Linked DNA regions of Homo sapiens: region 2 is linked to region 1. Evidence: promoter capture Hi-C in human tissues and cell types (Jung and others, 2019). All regions are on one chromosome and are shown on one strand. Each heading gives the region's core, a stretch centred on a gene start or on the middle of the fragment in contact. The rest is flanking DNA. Distances are from core to core; before and after follow the strand shown.

What was found. The method cuts DNA at HindIII sites, captures the fragments that hold promoters and counts their contacts. A contact is called where the count stands out against the background at its distance.
Region 2: a contact is called between a fragment that was not itself captured here and the fragment with the promoter of NXPE1 in region 1, in 2 of the 25 tissues and cell types used here (dorsolateral prefrontal cortex and liver).

What each region holds. Positions count from the first base shown.
Region 1 is chr11:114,556,834-114,561,626 of GRCh38, reverse strand. It overlaps NXPE1 (neurexophilin and PC-esterase domain family member 1), which reads left to right and starts at 1,746. Exons shown (of 9, transcript NM_001395504.1): 1 at 1,746-1,829. It also overlaps a transcript of NXPE2 not described here. The HindIII fragment of the contact is 13,622 bases long and covers 1-4,793 here.
Region 2 is chr11:114,746,919-114,751,518 of GRCh38, reverse strand. It overlaps a transcript of NXPE2 not described here. Among named protein-coding and RNA genes, the nearest start is that of NXPE2, 71 kb to the right of the region's middle. The HindIII fragment of the contact is 3,238 bases long and covers 783-4,020 here.

The DNA of each region.
Region 1 (4,793 bases), core at 497-2,996:
GCTAAGAAGAAAAATATTTTTCACCTAATTCTATAGCAAGTAAATTTATCATCTATTTAGGAAGAAAAAATATGTACTCAGTCTAATACTGGTCCCCTCTGAAAGAGCTACCAAAGACTTTACAAGATAAGAAACAAATTGAGTAGTGAGGAGTAGGTTTTAGAAACAATATTGGTTAAAGAAACCAAGGTAACAAACAATATTGCCTAATTGTGAGTGAGGCAATATGTTCATATGAACTGTTGACACATGCAATAACTTGGATGGACATCGTGGACGTTACGCTGAGTGGGAGAAAAAAGCCAATCTCAAAATTTACTCCCATGCATAAATAGTAGTAGTTGGGGTGGTGATAGTAGTAGTTGCTAATTATTTAGTGCTTAAACTAAGTGTCAGAAACTGTTTTTAAATGTTGTACATGTATTAATTCATTTAATCCTATGAGTACTTAGCACAGTACTAATAATACTTGTGATCTTCAAAACTAAATCTTACAAATTGGCACAGGGTCTGGGCATCCAGGCTTAGAAAGAGAGATGAAGTTAGATTTATGTTACAGAGCTGAAGTAACAGTCACATGACAAATATGAAGGTTCCAGAGGGAAGGGCATGAGGCATGAGAGAAAGGTCTCCAATATGTAGTCAGTAAAATATTATTCAGCACTAAAGAAATAAGCTATCAAGCCACAAAAAGACAGAGAAACTGAAATCCGTATCGCTAAGAGAAAAGCCAATCTGGGACAGCTACACACTGTATGATTGCAGCTATGTGACATTCTGTAAAAGTCAAAACCATGGAGACAGTAAGAAAACCAGTGGTGACCAGGGGTTAGAGGGGAAAGAAGGATTAATAGGCCTAATTATTCATATACACCCATATATTCCCTTTCATGTTACAGGCATTTGGCATAGCAGAAGTTACAGCAACATTTACTGTATTGGTGAATTAAATAATGTTTATGATAATGACGAGTTAATGAACCATATCCCCTTTCCCTAACTCAGAGCAAATAGTCCTTCCCCATTTATTAGATATCCTTTTCAAACCGATAAAAGATCCAGCTGGGAAAAGTGGCTCATGCCTGTAATCCCAGCACTTTGGGTGGCCGAGGAAGACAGACCACTTGAGCCCAGGAGTTCAAGACCAGCCTGGGCAACATGGTAAGACCCCATCTCTACAAAATACAAATTAAAAATATTAGCCAGGTGTGGCAGCATGCACCTGTAGCCCCTAGGCCCAAGGCAGAAGGATGGCTTGGGCCCAGGAGTTCGAGGTTGCAGTGAGCTATGATCACGCCACTGCACTCCAGCCTGGGCAACAGAGCAAAACCTTGTCCAAAAAAAAAAAAAAAAGAAAAAAAAAGAATTCTCAATCACCCACCAGTTCTCTGCATGGTGTCCACTGACAATTTGTTCTCTTGTTTGGAGTTGTCGTGAGACTTCAGATTTTCTGAGGAAAGCCTATCCATAGAGTCACTTGGGGTATTTTTACACTATGACTTCAAGGACCACAGCTGTTTCAGAACTAAGAGGTTTTCCATTCCCAAGGGTCACCAGTAACATGGAGAGAGAAGGAATCTCAAAGAATACCCGAGTAACACCCAGTTAACAGAGGCTGTGGAATTATCTAATTGTCAGTTAATTGTACTACTGTTTATTGCCTCTTCAAATCTCCACCCCAAGATAAGCCAATTTACGAGGAAAACAGACTGATGAAAATAAATGTGTTCACAGACAAGGAACAAAAACATTTTACACAGCCACAAGAGCCAGTTAAGAACTCACAGGTACTTTTCCAGCCACCCAGATAGGAGAGATCATTAAAACAGGTGAGTAAGCAAAACTATGGAGACTGCCTTTCTCTATTTCTAATCTTGCCAGTGGTCAGTGGAGGGCAGGGAAGAACAAAGCAAAAGAAATTAGAAAGACTGTGTCTGCTGAGGGGTTCTCTCAAGTCAGAGAAAGATAAGAAAAGGGAGAAAGCTCAGAAGAAAGTGTGGGAAACAAAAAAAAAAACTGATAGTGAGAGCCTCTCTTACTGACAAGGATAGGCTGGTTTTGACGGTGAGACAGCATCAAGATAAAATATTTCTCTAATAACCAACCAGCAAAAGTCCCCAGTGCTTTGTGGGAAGCAAGCATGGATACAGTCACTCAACCTAACATCTAGTTGGAGAGAGGAAGAAGGACATCAAAAATACCTGTTTACAACTGATATTTCTTTGCCTTGTTTTATGTATGACATTGTTTGGGTGGAAAATGTATGAATATGTCACAGGAATTCAAAATACGGGAGAGATCGTTGTGGTCTAGAGTTATGCTGGAAAGTTTCCTGTAGAGATTGCCCCTGAGCTGGGGATTCACTGACTATAGAGTCTAGATTGGTGCAGGGGCAGGCCACCCCAGGTGGGCAGTAGGATGAGTCATAAACAAAGCCAGAAAAGCAGGAAGGATTCTTTTTTAATTTTTGTCTTTGAGTATGTGTGTATCCATGTATTGTGCTTTGTATGTATATTTTTAATTTACATAAAAATGTGATAAAGATTTATGTTTATTTCTTTCTTCACTTAGAGCTGTTTTTAAGAGCTCTTCATATTACAGGTAAATCTAGTGAGTTGTATCTAACTGTTGGATAGTATCCCACAATACACATCCACTACATGTTTCTTAACCATTTCATAGTAATACATATTAAAGTCTATTTAATTCCCTACAATTACAGCTATACATATAATCAACTGAAAACAAACTTTGTATGTGATTCTTTATGGACCTGACTGAGAAGTCCTCTGTGATGTATCCAGAATGAATTGCTTGGACATAGGGCATAGATAAACACAAACTAACAGAAATATTGCCATTCTGCTTTCAAAACGATCATGTTAATTTGTACTCTTACATAGCACAGCAGAGTTATGTATAAAGATCCAATCTATATTGTGACCTAGTTCAGCTTAAGTCCATAACAGGAGGATTGTTTAGCTTTAGAAAATATACGAATGTAATACATCACATTTAAACATAAAAGTTTAAAAATTCATATAATTACCTCAATGAATCAGAAAAGGCCTTTGTCAATAACTCAACTTCCATTAGTAATAGAAACACTTCACAAACTTTCTTAAAAGAGAACTTCCTCAATCTAATAGAAGGCATTAAGAAAAGCAAATATCACAAATCCAACATCATATATTTAATTACACATAGTAAAATGTTGAAACTAACTATGAAAACAAGGCAAACGTACCCAATATGGCCACTTCTAATCATCTTTGTTCTCTATGTGTGCCTATATAAAAGCACTATTAAAATAAAGCACTTGCATTTCTACACATCAGCCACAGATATTTGTTTGGAAAATGAAATAAAAAGAAAAACATATAGAATGTGCATATATATGGATATATATATACACACACACATAAACACATATACATAGATGTGTGTATAGTTTATATTTATAATTATAAATAAAATTTATGTTTCCCAAAATAGTAGACTTGCTTATAGTCTCCTTTTGAGAGCAACTAGAAAAGCTAGAGGATGTTATATTTGATCTGTTAAGCGTCAGAGAGCAACTGGGGCAGTGAGGGGTTGAGAGATCTAGATTCTAGAGAGAAAGCAAGAGAGGAACAAAGGGCAGTTAGGGAAATAGAAGGAAAATGAGGTAACATATTCAAAGTGCTGATGCTTTTAACCACCAAAAACAAAAATAAATAAATAACACTTGTCAATCTAGAATTGTATAGCCCGCAAAAGAAACCCTCAAAATGAAAGCAAAATAAGATTTTTTAAAATGTAACCTTGAGAATTTGTCACTAGAAGATGTCTTACAGAATATTAAAGATAGTTCTTGAAGCAGAAGATAAATTCTCCCAAATGACAGTAGAGAACGGCAAAGAAGAATGAAAAAGAAGGAAACTAAATGTACAAATATAAATGAACAAGGATTTTATATATATATATATATATATATATATATATATATATATGTATTATATATAATATATTGTGGTGTTTTAAATATTCCTAGAATTAAACCAGTCAGTGGTGAGTGCCTATAGTCCCAGCTACATGGGAGGCTAAGGTAGAAGGATCACTTGAGCCCAGTAGTTCCAGTCCAACCTAGGCAGCATATTTCTTTTCCATCTCTAAAAGAAATAAAATAAATATTTCTAGAACTGAAATGCCTGACTATAGCAAGAAAATGTGAAAGAGTTAAATGTAAATGGAGTACAGTTTTCTAAGGTCCCTCATTTCCTAATAATTAGTAAAAGTACCAATTTATATTAGACTTCATTAAGTCAAAGATGCATATTGAAATTTCCAAAATAGAGTAGAAATTATTAAAGTAGTTTTTATAACAAGCTAAATGAGAATGGAAATAGAATAATTTTAGAGTTTTTGACTAATACACAAGAGGTCAAAAAGGGGGCCGGGCACGGTAGCTCATGCCTGTAATCCCAGAACTTTGGGAGGCTGAGGCACGCAGATTACTTGAGGTCAGGAATTCGAGACCAGCCTGGCCAACATGGTGAAACCCCGTCTCTACTAAAACTACAAAAAATTGGCCAGGTGTGGTGGCTCACGCCTGTAATCCCAGCTACTCAGGAGGCTGAGGCACTATAATTGCTTGAACCCAGGAGACAGAGGTTGCAGTGAGCCAAGATAGTGCCACTGCACTCCAACTTGGGCAACAGAGTGAGACTCTGTCTCAAAAAAAAAAAAAAGTCAAAAAGGGAGAAAATGGAATAGAAATAGAGAAGGTGGGACAAATAAAAACCAAATAGTAA
Region 2 (4,600 bases), core at 1,152-3,651, 190 kb before region 1:
CCCATTAAAAATGAGGGTAGGTAGGTTTTGTCACTTTTGTTTACTGATATATCACTGAACTAATATATCTGTGTATAGATATATTCAGTGTCTAAAGGAATACTAGGACACATTAGGAACTCACTAAATGTCTGTTGAATTAGTGTAAAATACATCTCATAAATAATAACATGGTGGAATGAGACTCACCACTGGAATCAACCAACGAATGGTGTATTGTAGAAGTAGTACAACCGTTTGCCAATATTTTGTTCTCTCCTTTTTGGCACATAGAAGCTGCACGTTCTGCTCCTTTGCAGTTGGCTGGGACCACATAGCTAATTCTGGCCATTGAAATGTGACCATAAGTAATGTATATCAAGTTTGATATGAGGCAATAAAAAGCCCATGCATGCTTCTTCGGTCTCTATCCCCTGCTGAAGCAACTAGGGAGTGGTCATTTCAGATAGTATAGATACAGAATGGCAGGACCTTTGACAGCCTGAGTCCCTGAGTGACTATGCAAAACAGGACCTTCACTCCACACCCCCCACCCCCACAACAAGAGTAGGACATAAAATGCCATCAAGAAATCAAATTTTGTTGTATTAAGGCACTGAAACGTTGAATCATTTGCTATCAAAACATAATTAGTCTACTCTGATTAATACAGGCTTCCATACCGAAAGTTGGGAGTCTGTGTAAAAAGCAACCAAATATGTGGCACTGACTTCACAGTTAGATGGCCATTGGCAAGACAACTAATATCAGAGGCTACAAAGGTTGTGATTCATGTTATATTGTAACCAAATATTTAGTAAAACTGTCACCTATGTAACTTGGGAAGTAGATCATATTTAAGTGAAGCTGGCACTCAAGGGGAAAACATAATGTTGGAGTGTTTGTTTAGTGATGTTTGTCATGTTTGGCTAGATACTATAAGAAATAAGCCAAGGGAAGAATTTCCCAGTTTGAAAGCAGAAATGAAAGGAAATGGGGAAATTTAAGAATTAGAACTTTGCAGGATTGAAAAGCCAATTGCTTCTGGACACCATATAGTAAAACTTAAGAGTCAAAAAGCAATTTCAGGATAGATGCCAATAAAATCTTTCAACAAATTATATTACCTAAAGGCAAGGATCAAATCAAGGATATATTGCTCAGTAAATCTTTTTCAATTGTATAAAACTACTCATGGCAGATATTAAGGGTAAAACTTGTCCGCAGACATGTGACAGCCTGGAGCAAGAGAACTGGGGGAGCAAAAATGGAAAGAAACATACCAGATATGATAAATTTGTCTCAAAGAAACTGTGAGATCTTTCACTTCTCTTTCCTTCCCTTATTGAAGAGTTTGATTCTAACACCTTTAGGTAGGCAGAGCAAGACGGACCTCTGTACCTGATGCGGAGGTGGAGGGAGCCTCAGTAGTGCAGTGGAGGGCATTGAACTGAGCTGAGTTAAGAGAGCACCTGTCTAGGAGGGCCACTTGGGTCTGAGCCTGGGTGGGTGAGAAGAATGTCCTCTTGGAGGAGGGCAGGGAGCATCTTGGCGAATGTTCAAAGCCTGAGGAAGGAGAGAAGAGAGTCTACATGGAGGGTGGCCAGGCATGGGTATCAGAGGACATTCATGTGGAAGACACAGATGGGGTGGGTGGGGAATCAGGCACAGGGTGGCAAAGCTTGAGCAGGGTGAAGAAGACATCCACGTGGAAGGAGGTTTACGGTGAGTTTCAAAGCCTGAGAAGAGTGGAAAGGGCATTCCCACAGAGGTGACGGCCAGTGTGAGTGTTAGACACAAAGAGGGTGTTCACATGAAGAAGGGATGGTAGCAATGAATGGTTGGTCATGTACTGGGGATTGATGAAATAAGGATAATGAGAGATAGTTTTGTCATTGTCAGAGAAAGGCATTACAAAAATGAAAAGGGAGAATACCAGAATGAGCCCTGTGGTGCATCCTTGTGAACTTTTGGAGATTATATAGGTACAGTTGGCCCTCCTTTTCTGTGGGCTTCACATCAGCAGGTGGATATGGGAGGCCAACTGTACAAATTTTCCATCCAAAATTGCTTGAATCTGCAGGTGTGGAACCTGCAGATAGAGTGCTGACCCCATTTTATATAAGGGATTTGAACATCTGTGGATTTTGGTATGTGTGATGGGTCCTGGAATCAGTTCCCTGCTGATACAGAGGGCTGACTGTATACATTATATACATATACATAAATGTATGTGTGTGTATGTATATATGCATAATGGATTAGATATACATGAATGAATTTAGATGTAAATATATATGCATACATACATATATTCCCTAACTCTCCCCTGATAGAGCCTAGGAACAATAACACAAATAGCAATGCACATACCAGGTGCCTAGATCATGGCTTCTAAATACGTATGCTTTACTAAAAGGAACCAGGACTCTTTGGAGAAATGGTAGATTCCAGTGCTGAGGCAACAAAATTACAAGATGAATTTGGAATGTCTTGTCCTAGAAAACAAGGAATAGCTCAAAGAATGATAAAGGTATGTCAAACGGACATAGAAGCCTATCTGAAGAGGCACTCACTGGTCAGATCTAGCACAATTTCATTATCAAAATAAACAATGATGGCAACTAATTATAATCCATTGAATAAAATGGAAACCATATGTATTCCTGACACAAATTAATCAATAAATAAATTGAAAGTTTGATAATGGATATATATGTAGTTCCAAAGTAACTTCCCACAGCACTTTAATTAAATACAAATGGAAAAAGAATGACTTTGTTGTGGAGAAGCATGGCAGATACCATCTCATTCAAGTAACCAAAGTGAAAAAATTGGAATCTGTGTCATCTAATGGCATGTGACAAGAAGAACACAGGATCGCTTATGTGATATTCCTGCCAAAATGTACAACTTGAATCTAATAAAGGGGAAACATGAAACAAATGCAAATTGAAAAACACAGTAAAAAGTAACTGGTCTGTAGTCTTCAAAAGTGTCAAGCTAATGAAAATCAAGAAAAGACTGAGAATTGGGCCAGAGTGAGGGACTCTGGGAAGACAAGACAGTGAAAAGCAACTCATGATTCCAAATTGAATTCTTTTGCTGTAAACAACACTTTTGAGACATCTGGCAAAATTTGAGTGTGTCTGAAGATTAAATGATAGTGATGCATCAATGTTAATTTCTTGATGTTGCAGGTTGTGTCTTGGTTTATAGGAGAAAGTCCTTATTAGTAGGAACTGCATGTACTAGGGGACAAAGGAGCAACACATAGGCAATTTACTCCCAAACATCTCAGGAAAAATAAACTGCTTTGTACCATACCTGCAAATTTTCTGTAAGGTTAAAATTGTTTCAAAACAAAATATTAATAAAAAAGAAAGAAAATGAAAAAACATTTGTAAGTATGGCACGTAAAGATGAGTGGATCAAAAAGAAAGATGCTTAGTGAAATAAGCCAGGCACAGAAAGACAAACACCAGATGACTTCACTCATATGTGGCATCTAATAAAGGTGATCTCACGAAAGTGGAGAGTAGAATGATGGCCACCAAGGGCTGGGGAGAATTGGGGCACTGTTGGTCAAAGGCCACAAAATTCAGCTAAATAGGAGGAATACAGTCAAGCAATCCATTGTACAGCCTGACAACTGTACTTGATAATATATCATATTCTTGAAAAATGCTAAGAGAGTGGCTATAAATTTTTTCGCACCACAAAAATGATGAGTATGTGAGGTGATATGGTTTGGCGCTGTGTCCTCACCCAACTCTCATCTCAAATTGTAATTCCCATGTGTTGAGGGAAGGACCTGGTGGCAGGTGATTGGTTTCTCCGCATGGTTCTCATAATAGTGAATGAGTTTTCATGGGATCTGATGGTTTTAAAGTGCTTGGCAGTTCCCCCCTTGCCCTCTCTCTCTCCTGCCACTGTGTAAGATGTGTCTTGCTTCCCCTTCACCTTTAGCTATGATTATAAGTTTCCTGAGGCTTCCCCAGCCATGCAGACCTGTGAGTCAATTAAACCTCTTTTCTTTATAAATTACATACCCTCAGATCATTCTTTATAGCAATATAAAACTGGACTAATACATGAGGTAATGCATATGTGAGTTATGTAATCAAGTGACATGTATCACTTCTGTGTAGGCAGTGAAAAGTCCAAATACTCTTCTCCAATATCTGTTTCCCTGCTGTGGTGATTGAAGAAGTCATGTATTCCGGGTTGCTATAGCTATGAGATGGCAGGTTCTCTATCGGCCTGGGTCCTGAGTGTTACCAGGGAGTCAGACACCTAATTGAACATAAAAATTAAGTAAGCAGATTTAAAAACCCCTTTTTAAAATTGAGCCACTAAGTTTGTGGTTGTTCATTACAGTAGTATAATCTATCCTATAGAGACACTCAATTCAAAGAAAGGAATCTGGATAGAGGGAAGGTAGAAGACATGAGTATCTGATTAGAGATCAAAGAAGAGGTCTAAGAGTGACATTTTGTGACACACTACTACAAATTAGCCAAAGAGATAGGGGACATGGATTTCTGCTGTCAATAACACACTAACATGGCAACAAGACACAGAAATTTTTGCTTTCTTTAGGCTTAGGGCCATGTAAAAG